Regions from separate parts of the Homo sapiens genome. Here region 1 is linked to region 2. The links are contacts of gene promoters, found by promoter capture Hi-C in blood cells and fetal thymus (Javierre and others, 2016). All regions are on one chromosome and are shown on one strand. The core of a region is centred on a gene start or on the middle of the fragment in contact, and the rest is flanking DNA. Distances in the headings are between cores, read along the strand shown.

What was found. The method cuts DNA at HindIII sites, captures the fragments that hold promoters and counts their contacts. A CHiCAGO score of 5 or more calls a contact.
Region 1: a fragment that was not itself captured here is called in contact with the fragment with the promoter of MAML2 in region 2 in 1 of 17 cell types (total B cells); the score reaches 7.0 in total B cells.

Annotation. Positions count from the first base shown.
Region 1 is chr11:95,090,153-95,096,236 of GRCh38, forward strand. It overlaps ENDOD1 (endonuclease domain containing 1), which reads left to right. Exons shown (of 2, transcript NM_015036.3): 1 at 1-75. Among named protein-coding and RNA genes, the nearest start is that of ENDOD1, 3.3 kb to the left of the region's middle. RefSeq lists an enhancer at 2,773-3,067 and a silencer at 2,773-3,067. The HindIII fragment of the contact is 2,475 bases long and covers 3,598-6,072 here.
Region 2 is chr11:96,340,820-96,347,128 of GRCh38, forward strand. It overlaps MAML2 (mastermind like transcriptional coactivator 2), which reads right to left and starts at 2,376. Exons shown (of 5, transcript NM_032427.4): 1 at 564-2,376. The coding sequence starts at 1,076. It overlaps MIR1260B (microRNA 1260b), which reads left to right and starts at 619; the gene lies at 619-707. RefSeq lists silencers at 993-1,252, 2,370-2,559. The HindIII fragment of the contact is 8,013 bases long and covers 1-6,309 here.

The sequences.
Region 1 (6,084 bases), core at 3,585-6,084, 1.2 Mb before region 2:
CCCGTGTACTCCGCGTTCCGCGCCCCGCGCCCTGCGCCCGGCGGCGCCGAGCAGCGATGGCTGGTGGAGCCGCAGGTAAGCGAAGTGGTTCCCGAGCCGGGCTGCGGGCGCCGGAGACCGTGCCGCTGGACATGCCCCCAGTTGCAGCTACCGCGAGGGGCGGGCCGGGAACAGCAATCCCTACGCCTTCGGTGCCTTGGGCCAAGAAACCCGGGTTCCAGGTCCACCCTGTTGCGTCCCCGGAGTTAGCCTGCCTCGCCCCTGTCGAGCTACAATAAGAGCCTGGCGATCTGCGAGCCTTCACTTCATGAGCTGCAGGGCGGGAGGTCCCCTGTGGGAGGAGGTTCTCCCTGCATTTCTGAGCAGACATCCGCAGTGTTTCATTCCTGAATGGTGAAGAGCTTGATACAGAGACCCTGGAGACCGTTCAGATCCGCAGAAAGCCTAGGCTGGGCGCTCACAGGCCTTCGTGCAACTTATTGCCATAGCACTCATTTGGAGGTGGGTAGGTGGGCATTTTCATCCCCATTTTACAGAAGAGGAGATAAACCCAGGGGGTGAAGAGACATATGGAAGACTACCCAGTTAGTAAGATGGGGCAGGTCTCTGTCTAGAAATTCACTGCCTTTTCTACTAAGTAAAGCTTCTCTTCTGCAGAGCTCATCCTAGCCTGAAAATCCTTCCTCTACCACGGCGTTGAGTAAATTCGATCTGCGGTTGTGTTGAATTAGAACAATGAAATAAAGATACAGATTTTTAGAAACGCAATGGGGTAGTTAAAAATGATAGGGAAACATTGACTACCTCCAACTGATGGAAAGATAAGCCAGTTTTTCCTGACTCCTCATATCTATATTATCATACCACTAGGAAATCGTGTCACCTCTCATGGTGTTCTGTCCCGTCTGGTAAAGGTGACCAAACACTTGAGAAGCCCTCAGAGTCTTCCGAACCTGCTGGCCTGCTCTTAATACCTCTCCTCAGTTGGCCTCCTCTCTAGAACACCCTGCCAGACTCCCCTTTGCCCTCTCACCAGCCTCCCACCCCTGCCCAGGCTGCTGGGGGAAGAACTGACCCAACGCTCTCCCTTTCCTGACGGCCACAGCTGCCCAGGACCACACCAGTGGACAGGAGGCTGGCTTTCAGGTGCTTTATTCAGAGCCTGTGGGTTGTAATCTCATTCAGATATTTCTAGCTCTGAGGTCTTGGCCAGGTCTCAAACAATCTGCACCTAGTTTTCTTATCTTCCTCACATCCTTCCACCTACCTCAACTGTTGATAACACTTGTCGAGATCAGGCATGTGAAAAAGACGTTGTCAGTTGCACACACAAGACACATTTAAATCCAAAATTAGTTTTCCACCAGCTGCACCCCTAGAGCTCACAGGGTGTTCCCCACCTCTCATCTTGCATTGTGATTGTGTGCCTGCGAAGAAAACAAATGAGCTAGTTCTTTCCCCTTGATCTCATGGACAGCTTGGGGAGACAGAACATACGTCTGAGGAAATCATGGGAATGGATGCTAAACAAATTTCAGTTAAATTCAGAACACATTTAGTGACTCCTGCTGTGTGCCAGATATTTGGGACCAAGAGATCTGAGTGCAGTTCTGGAACAAAGGCTACCTGATCTGCAGGTGGAGTTTGCTGGGTGGAGAGGTGGTGTAGTATCTGATTAGAGCCATGCTATGTGGGTTCATATCCTAGTTGCTCCACTGACTAGCTATGAACTTGGGCAGGTTAAATTGGAGATAATAGCATAGGGTGGTGTGAAGATTTAATGAGTTACCATATATAAAGTTCTCAGGTGTGTGACACATGAGTACTAAGTACTAGCTGTTGCTATGACCTAAGCAAAAAACCATAATTTAATAAAGGTGAACAAAGTCCTATTAGATTTAATCTGTCTTTGAGGTGATGGAAGCAAGCCTTAGGGTCAGGATGACATTTCTGCTGTGTGTGGAAAGATAAGGCAGAGTTTAGAAGGGAGGCAAGGAGGAGGACATTTCAAGCAGAGGGAACAAACATCATGAGTGAGAAAGGCATGGCAGATTCAGGGATTTGTGCGTGAAGAAGTTGGAACAGGTAAACTAATACAAATAGATGAATGCACTCAATTGCTCAGAATAAAAAGGAATCATGGAAGGGAGGGATCAGGTGGGGAGGAGCCACCAAGGAAGGCTTAGGGAGGCAGAGCCATTTATGCAGCTAGGGAAGGAGTGAGTCGTAAAGGAGCATAGTTTGACAGAAAGAAGTACAGGGAACCAGGTAACATGGAGACCCTGGGTGAGATAATGAGGAAGGGGACTGTGGAGATTAAAGAAGATGGGAAGGGAGGGTGGAAATAGTTACAAATGGCAGCTTGAGAGGTAAGATGTACAGCGGTTCTGAAGAGTACAAGGGGCCTGAGTTCCTGCTGTGCTGAGAGGTCAGAATGGTCACTGTGGCTGAGCACTGCAGGATGCTTTTCCCTGCAAGGTGGCTGGCCTCCCACATCCACCCGCTCGACCTCAAGTCAAGTCAGCCAGGATCCAGAGAGTATTGGGAGAGAGGGAGGGAGGAGGAGGTGTGAGGTGCAGCTGGGCCTGGAGTGCACTGCAGCAAACCTGCCCCCACTGTTGCCTGCTCCCTGAGGCCCTGCCTCCCAGCCAAGATCCCCACTGCAGAAAGATGCTCAGGGCTCAATGTGTACCCTTGGCGGCTTCCAAGCATTTTATAATGCTGAGTCTCCTTGTACCCACATCACCTTTTTATGAGGTCAGTGTTACCAAGAGGACCCGCACACAGGGGAGGAAGAGGCAGGAGACCAAAGGAACTCAGTGCTTGCCTCCAGTGATGAGTCAGGCAGGGCAGCAGTGACACTGAATTCCCAAAGCCCAGTTCGGCAGCTTTTGAGTCCACACTGCAGTTTCCCTTTGAAAAGAATCTCCTAAGTCAAAGATCACAGAAACTTAGTCACTCTTGTGCTGAAAATCTGTAAAGTGTTGCCTGCCCAGCCCCTACAGGACAAAGTTCACACTGCAGAATGCAGTTTACAGGCTCTCCATAGCCTAGCTCCTGTCTCCAGCTCCAATCTAGTTTCTCACCATGCTCCACCCTCATATTTTATGTTCTAGCATTATCCAGCTGCCTGGAGTTCCTCTCATAAACCAGACTGTTTGTGATGTCTGTTTCTTAGCTCATGCTGATTCCCTTTGCCCAAATTCCCTTTCTACACAGACCCCATCTTATCCTTCACTTCCTGCCCTTACTCCATCCTTTAAGACTCTGCTGAGGTGTCACCTCCTCCAGAAAGAATTCCCCACCTGAACTGTATCCACCTCCCAAGTTAGGTTCACCCCTTCAGTGCTCTTATAGTTTTTCTATTTTCATACTTACCATGTTGTTTTGTAATTATCTGCTTATGTATCTGTCTCCCCAACTTGAGCCCTTGAGGAATGATGATTGCATCTTACTCATTCTTTTCCTAGTGCCCAGCTTATAGAAAGCACGCGATAAGTGTTGAATAAAATAATTTGATGTTGGGAGGATCAATCAGGCAGGAGCAGGTGAGATGTTCTGCTTCAGTTTTCTCAGTGGGGCGCTTCCTGTTTCAGAAGCTTGCACCAGGGCTGGCCAGCAGCAACTGTTACAAACATGCTCCCTATGCAGAGCTGGAACCCTGCTCTGCAGCCACTCCATCAGTCTTAGCTTTGGCCTTTGAAACTATCCCAAATGATTTTGATCTCTGCTCTGCCTACAGGAGATGGTTTGGAGGAGTTCTAGTCAAGACTCCAGAAACCTGAGAACTGGATTCTGGTTTAGTGCAGGAAGCCTCAAACCTTTTAGTTTGTTGACTCCTTTCCACTTAATGGAAGAATTTTTAGATAAGATGCCAATGATACCTTTCTAAAGTGCATTGCTGATTTATGCCAGAAGCCAACATATAAAGCTCTATCATTTTATAAACATGGAAGGAACTGAATATATAAATTATATAATTAATATATTATACATATTAATTATATAATATATAATTTATATATTCAGTAACAATAGTGTATATTTGTTCAATCTTAAAAAATACTGTGAGGTAGATATTATCTTCATTGTAGAAAGGAGGAAACTGGCTAAGGGAGGTTAACTGAGGTGTTTTAGGGTCACACAGCTTATTTTTGAACTCATTACTGATTACTCTTCTGATACACTGTGGAGATTCTTTGATCTCACAATGGATCCACTGCGCTAATGGTCTTAGGACTCTAATTTTCATCTTTTATGTGAGAATTCTAATTTCTACTCCACTTCTATTTTCTGACAGTCATAGGACAAGTGGGAGCACTTACTTGGCTGCATAAAGGTTGCTCAAGTGTCACTTTACTCTGGAATGAAGGGGATATTCTGGTTAACTGCAAAAACATTTTCCTGGAGGGCACAGTGAGGTCTTACTTCAGATCTTAGTAAATGCAAATGGTTGTTTCAAGTTAGAACCTTGATTAAGTCCTTGATTTTTAATTTCCATCCATGGCTTATACAACCTGAAACAGAAATACTGTTCAATTTGTTCCAACCTCAGCCTTCTTTTCATTGTGTCAGAGAACAGATATATAGAGCATCATACACTTAAATCTCTGTGTAAGGAATGCAGTGAACAGGACAATCCTGATTCTTACTCCTTAATTAAGAGACTTAATTCAGATCCCTGCTCTTCCATTTACAAGCTATGTGACTTCCAGCCCCATTTTTTGGATCTGTTCATTAAAGGTTGTAAAAGTGTTTATAGAGAGGTTGTGACAAATAAACAAGATAACACATGAGAGCATGTGGCATGGTACCTGGAATATGGTAAACTCTTAGTAAATATTAATATGTATATAAGGTGTTACTTCAGTAGGTGCTAGGCGTGTGCACGCACACACACACACACACACACACACACAAATGGAATGTTGGATTAGATAGGTGACATCTACAATTCTGCAAATCTCTCCTAAAAAGTAAAATATCTATCCATGTATCTTCTCAAATGCTTGGTGTATGTCCCACATTCATACAGTAGCTGCTTCATAAATGCATGATGAGAGATGAAATGTGTGGAAGATTGAATGAATGGATGGAGGGTGGATTTGAGTGATTAAAAGCAAAAACAAACCAAACAGGTACCAAAGACATCTCCACCCTCTCTGTCCTGGAAAACCAAGAAGTGTGTTGTCAGAAAACAGTGAGCAATGGCATTCCAGTCTATTGTGCTGAGACTGGATAAGACTGGGAAGTGCCTGACCCAGGGGATGGTTCCAACCTTTGTTGAATTTTTCCCTTCTGGCTTTTTCTTCATCTTTGGATTTAGTGTTTCCTTTTGTTTTGCAGGCCATTCTCAGGATCAAGTTAAGGTATTTACCTGCGTTGGCAGAATATTTCAGGGACATCTGTCCTGAAGCAGTCCAGTGGTGACAATTCCCTATACTATTCTTTCAGTTTAGACTTATATCTGGACAATCTAGGCAAGGAACTATCATTTATTGATCCCTTACCATGTCAAAGGTCTTCACATTCTAACTCATCTCATCTCTATAACAACTCTAGGTATTATGACTTGTGTTTTATAGTTTAGGAAACTGAGGTTCGGAGTAGTTAAGTAACTTATCCAAGGTCAAACAGCTTCTAGATGGCAAAACCTGGACAGGAGTTTATGACTGCCCAAATCCAAAGCTCTTAACTCTCTTTATTCTCTATCACACTATTTTCTAACTAAAATGTTAGTTTTTTCTCTCCAGAATCCAAACTGGCTGACTAGACTTGTTATTTTATTTTTAATCCAGTTCTTTGGATGGTTTATGGTTTCACTACTAACATACCATTCTGTATGTAAATGCCAGCTTCAGATTTCTTTTAGCTCCGTTACTGGTGATTCATGGTGATTGAATGGAGCTTTCCTTAGGGAATTGAGATTTTATTCTTTGGGCATAAAATTTCTCTTCCTTTTAAACTCTCATCTCTGAAAGTGAAAATTTTAGAAAGTAAATCCTCTTATTTGCCAGTAGCATTTGTTTTCAGTTATCTGGTCTATCTTCTAGAATTACTGTTAGTCAAGAAAGCTTTTTTTTT
Region 2 (6,309 bases), core at 1,126-3,625:
CCCCAAATTTTGTTTTTGACTGAGGGGACATTCGGGGAATTTGCTATTTGTTACAGCTTACCATTTATGTTCTCTTAAGCGAAGAAGAAGGGGGTCACTTCAAAAGGGAGAGGGGAAATGGGGCAAGGAGAAAAAGGCTTTAATAAAGGCCAGCTGGGCTGATAAATGCTTTGGGGCTGAAAAATGGCTTGGGGGCCTAATCAGAGCTGGCTGGCCAAAGCTGGAGGATCCATGAGATAGAACCTTCCTCAGTGGCTCAGATCTTGCCAGCTGGTAGCCTCTTCTTTTATAAGATGTGGACCCCAGAGAGCCTCTGGAAAACTCAGGCTTCTTATCAGTTAAGGAATATCCTATAAGCGAAGGAAAACCCAGGAGTGAGCACCAACAGAACATGATGAGTAGGCGCATGAAACCACCCGAACACACCCAATGGCCTTTAAGGTAGTCAGGTGACATCTTGGCCTTTTTCATTGCCATCCACTCTACCTTAGGCCAAAGCAAACTCTACCCTCACAAAAGGTCACAGGACCACAGCCAGAACCATGAGAAAGCCAGGTGCTTACCGCAATCAGGGCTGAGTTCCTCTGGTCCCCTGGGGTTGAAGCGGGCGGCTGCTGCTCTCCGTTTATCCCACCACTGCCACCATTATTGCTACTGTTCAGCAGGTGCTGCTGGTGGTGATGGTGATAGTCTGGTGGGGGCGGTGGGGCTGCTGTTGCTGCTGCTTGGGAGGCCGCAGGAGGGGCAGCAGGGGGCGGTGGAGGGGCTGTAGTGGTGGCAGCAGTGGCGGTGGCCTTGGTGTGTTTGCCAGCTTTCCTTGCCCCCTGGCCATGCTGTACAAGGCTCAGGAGCTGCAAGGTGCTTTCTCTTTCCCGGTCTGAGCTCTCGGCCCTACCTCGTTCATATCGTCCTTCACAGCTCAGGTGGTGTTGGCGGCAGACAGCGATCCGAGCCCGGAGGCGCTCCACGATAGCACTGTGCACTCTCGGGGTGACTGAGCCCCCTCCAAGGAGCCCCGCCCCAGAGGCCCCCCCTAGCCCTCCTGCGGGGGCCTGCGGGGGCGCTGTGTCCCCCATCTTACCGGACACAATGATTGCTGCCTCTGGGATGGTGAGGTGGAAAGAGGCTACTGCTGGCTATTGCAGGCAAGTCTGTTTTTGACAATGTGAGCTCAGTGTTCAGGGCCACATGAATAGAGGTCTTCAGAGGTTGTGGGGGAGCCGTGGAGAAGTTGTGGGGGAGGGGAGTTAGTAAAAAGAGGGTGGGGAGAAAGAATAGAAACCAACTGGGGGGAGGATAAGTTGGAAACAAACCCTGATTAACTTACTCTAATTGCATTTGACAGCTCTGGAGAAGTTGGACAGAGTTGGTGGATTTTTTTTCCTCCACCAAGCTGACAAGAGCCACTAGGTACTTTGTAAACACACGATCTGGGGGTTAGATCAAGAATTCAGGGATTGTCCAGCAAGAGACAGAAACACACAGCAAAAGGTATTGAGAGAGGTATTAATAGAGAGGACTCCCCCTCACCTAGTTGTTTCCGACAATTCTTTATGGGGATGTTTCTGCAGAGAAACACATTTCTACCATGTCTATGTAACCAGCAGCCTTGACTTTTCCTCAGGTTAAATAAAAAACCAAAACAAAACAAAACAGTGCTGTTTCAGAAGATGTTTAAGTCACTGTTCAAAATGTGCAAAAATCAAGGGAGACTGTCTTTTGGCTTTTAATTTTTCCTCCCTTTCCTTTCGCTCCGGTGTTTTCTCCTCTTTGGGGTACTGTAGGATGTTGTCTTCTCCCAAAAGAGGGAGACAGCTTTTCAACTGTTAACAATGTCAGTAATTGGACTTTTGGACCATGCTTTTTTCTTCAGCTAATCCAATCACCGGTAAAATCCTCACTCCCTCTAAGGTTTCCTAGCCTTAAATGAAAAGCAATCTTAAGTCGCTAGCCACTGAGAGAGATCCTTCAACACATTTTTTTCTTTCCCGCTTACGTTTCTATTCCTCACCCCCGGCTCTATTCTAATACAGTATCAAGAGAGACAAACTCTTCCGAGAGTAATTTACAAACGATGGTCAAACTTACAAACTTCCAGCAAATTGCACCGAGTCATGTCCAGCCACTTTTCTGTCCACTTTTGTACATTCCATCCCCGGCCAGTGGATCTGAGGGTCTGGACTCGCAATAAGCAATCTGGTTCTATCTCCTGTATTTGCTCCGCTTTATAGATGGAAAAAAAAAGTAGCTTGTATTTTCCTTTCTCTTTCTCGTCTGTTGTTAGCCGCTTTGCTGACACTGGCTCGCGCCCGGAGTCACGGCGATACACAGGCTTTCATTGTGCTCCGATAGGAGAGGGAGAGAAAGAGAGAGAGTGAGACAGAGAAGGAGAAAGAGAGAGCCAGCAAGCTGCAGATGGGGGTGGGGGGGCGGGGAGAGGGCGGGAGAGCTCGTTCGAGGCTCCCTGGTGGAAGGCTGGTGCCACTGCGCGAGTGAGTAATCGCAGCCAGGCACCGGGGAAAGGGGAACGCAGAGGGCCTCCCAGTGGCTGAAGAGGTAAATCCCAAGCCCTGCGCATCTCAGCTGCCCTGGCTCAGCTCAGCATCAGACTCGGTTAAGCGGGGAAGGCTGGGGAAATTCCCCAACCTCTACACAACCATTTCACCAGCTCTAAATGTTTAAGAAATTCCGGGCCAGGAATGTGTTTTCCCTTTCAGCCCTACATTACGCCCCGCTGAGGATATCATTTTCATTTTTCAGTATATTGTAAATGACACCACTGAGCAACCTAGCACGAGCTGTGTGAGCACCGAGGAAATGTTCATTAATAGAATAAGGAAGATATGAATGTGTGTGTTGAGGGCGGAAGGGGTTGCGCGTGGAGAGGAGAGGTAATCACATTGTTAGCTCCTAAAGGGCAGGCAGGTGTAGCGTTTGTCTACCTGCCTGCCCATTTGTGTGTCTCTGGATAAGTGAGTCTGGGTGATCACAGGCAAATCAGTTGGGATAAATAAAATATTTTATGAGAATGATACAATTATCGATACCAGTTCTAGAAAAAAACGCTTTTTTTTTGGGAATGCATGATTGCCTATGAAAAACCAAATATAAGACCTGAAGTATCCTTAGCTACCTGGTGCACATATACAATGAGGAAAGTCAATGTGTAGCAGCTGAGTTTCAAAAAGTTTTTTTTTTTTTTTTCTTTTAATGGAGTCTTGTTATGTTGCCCAGGCTGGAGTTGAACTCCTGGGCTCAAGTGATCCTCCCACTTGAGCCTCCTGAGTAGCTGGAACTACAGGTACTCACCACTACTGCACCTGGCTCTGAGTTTCAAGAAGTTTAATAATAGAAACCAAATAGATCTCACACAGATCATTGTTCCCCCATTTTCAAGTGATCCAACCTTTAAAATATCCAATCCTGGCCAGGCACAGTGGCTCACGCCTGTAATCCCAGCACTTTGGGAGGCCAAGGCAGGTGTATTACCTGAGTTCAAGAGTTCAAGACCAGCCTGGCCAATATGGTGAAACCCCGTCTCTGCTAAAACTACAAAAATTAGCTGAGCATGGTGTCATACGCCTGTAATCCCAGCTACTCGGGAGGCTGAGACAGGATAATTGCTGGAACCCAGGAGGCGGAGGTCGCAGTGAGCTAAGATCACGCCACTGCGCTCCAACCTGGGCAACAGGGTGAGTCTCTGTCTCCAAAAAAAAAAAAAAAACTTATTGTGGATTCTGCTTATTTTCAATTATGAAGATTAAATTAAGGTGAGCATAATACTGCAACAGTCAGGACCAAAAATATTCTGGGTATCCTAATTTGGAAGTCATTTGGATTTGAGGTCTCAAATAATATACCTTCAGTAATCTAAACAAACTCTGGCATTTCACGAATATGGTCGTTTCAAACTGAGCTATGGATAGAAATAGGCAAAATCAAGGCAAACATCTCAATACTGGATTTATTTGCAATTTAGTTCCCTATAGGATAGCCTACTTTAGTCCATTTTATTTTCACCAATCCTGTTAGCTTGGAAATGGGGACAAATACACTCAGATTTTTTGTTTGTTTTATAATTTCTTTTATTTCTTTTTTTAAATTTTATTATTATTATACTTTAAGTTTTAGGGTACATGTTCACAACGTGCAGGTTTGTTACATATGTATACATGTGCCATGCTGGTGTGCTGCACCCATGAACTCGTTATTTAGCATTAGGCATATCTCCTAATGCTATCTCTCCCCCCTCACCCCACCCCACAACAGTCCCCAGAGTGTGATGTTCCCCTTCCTGTGTCCATGTGATCTCATTGTTCAATTCCCACCTATGAGTGAGAACATGCGGTGTTTGTTTCTTCGTCCTTGTGATAGTTTGCTGAGAATGATGGTTTCCAGCTTCATCCATGTCCCTACAAAGGACATGAACTCATCAATTTTTATGGCTGCATAGTATTCCATGGTGTATATGTGCCACATTTTCTTAATCCAGTCTATCATTGTTGGACATTTGGGTTGGTTCCAAGTCTTTACTATTGTGAATAGTGCCGCAATAAACGTACCAGTGCATGTGTCTCTATAGCAGCATAATTTATAGTCCTTTGGGTATATACCCAGTAATGGGATGGCTGGGTCAAATGGTATTTCTAGTTCTAGATCCCTGAGGAATCGCCACACTGACTTCCACAATGGTTAAACTAGTTTACAGTCCCACCAACAGTGTAAAAGTGTTCCTATTTCTCCACATCCTCTCCAGCACCTGTTGTTTCCTGACTTTTTAATGATTGCCATTCTAACTGGTGTGAGATGGTATCTCATAGTGGTTTTGATTTGCGTTTCTCTGATGGCCAATGACGATGAGCATTTTTTCATGTGCTTTTTGGCTGCATAAATGTCTTCTTTCGAGAAGTGTCTGTTCATATCCTTTGCCCACTTTTTATGGGGTTATTTGTTTTTTTCTTGTAAATTTGTTTGAGTTCATTTAGATTCTGGATATTAGCCCTTTGTCAGATGGGTAGGTTGCAAAAATTTTCTCCCATTCTGTAGGTTGCCTGTTCACTGTGATGGTAGTTTCTTTTGCTGTGCAGAAGCTCTTTAGTTTAATTAGATCCCATTTGTCAATTTTGGCTTTTGTTGCCATTGCTTTTGGTGTTTTAGACATGAAGTCCTTGCCCACACCTATGTCTTGAATGTTATTGCCTAGGTTTTCTTCTAGGGTTTTTATGGTTTTAGGTCTAACACATAAGTCTTTAATCCATCTTGAATTAATTTTTGTATAAGGTGTAAGGAAGGGATCCAGTTTCAGCTTTCTACATATGGCTAGCCAGTTTTCCTGGCACCATTTATTAAATAGGGAATCCTTTCCCCATTGCTTGTTTTTCTCAGGTTTGTCAAAGATCAGATAGTTGTAGATATGCGGCATTATTTCTGAGGGCTCTGTTCAGTTCCATTGGTCTATATCTCTGCTTTGGTACCAGTACCATGCTGTTTTGGTTACTGTAGCCTTGTAGTATAGTTTGAAGTCAGGTAGCATGATGCCTCCAGCTTTGTTCTTTTGGCTTAGGATTGACTTGGCAATGCGGGCTCTTTTTTGGTTCCACATGAACTTTAAAGTAGTTTTTTCCAATTCTGTGAAGAAAGTCGTTGGTAGCTTGATGGGGATGGCATTGAATCTATAAATTACGTTGGGCAATATGGCCATTTTCACGATATTGATTCTTCCTACCCATGAGCATGGAATGTTCTTCCATTTCTTTGTATCCTCTTTTATTTCATTGAGCAGTGGTTTGTAGTTCTCCTTGAAGAGGTCCTTCAGGTCCCTTGTAAGTTGGATTCCTAGGTATTTTATTCTCTTTGAAGCAATTGTGAATGGGAGTTCACTCATGATTTGGCTCTCTGTTTGTCTGTTATTGGTGTATAAGAATGCTTGTGATTTTTGCACATTGATTTTGTATCCTGAGACTTTGCTGAAGTTGCTTATCAGCTTAAGGAGATTTTGGGCTGAGATGATGGGGTTTTCTAGACATACAATCATGTCATCTGCAAACAGGGACAATTTGACTTCCTCTTTTCCTAATTGAATACCCTTTATTTCCTTCTCCTGCCTGATTGCCCTGGTCAGAACTTCCAACACCATGTTGAATAGGAGTGGTGAGAGAGGGCATCCCTGTCTTGTGCCAGTTTTCAAAGGGAATGCTTCCAGTTTTTGTCCATTCAGTATGATATTGGCTGTGGGTTTGTCATAGATAGCTCTTATTATTTTGAGATACGTCCAATCAATACCTAATTTATTGAGAGTTTTTAGCATGA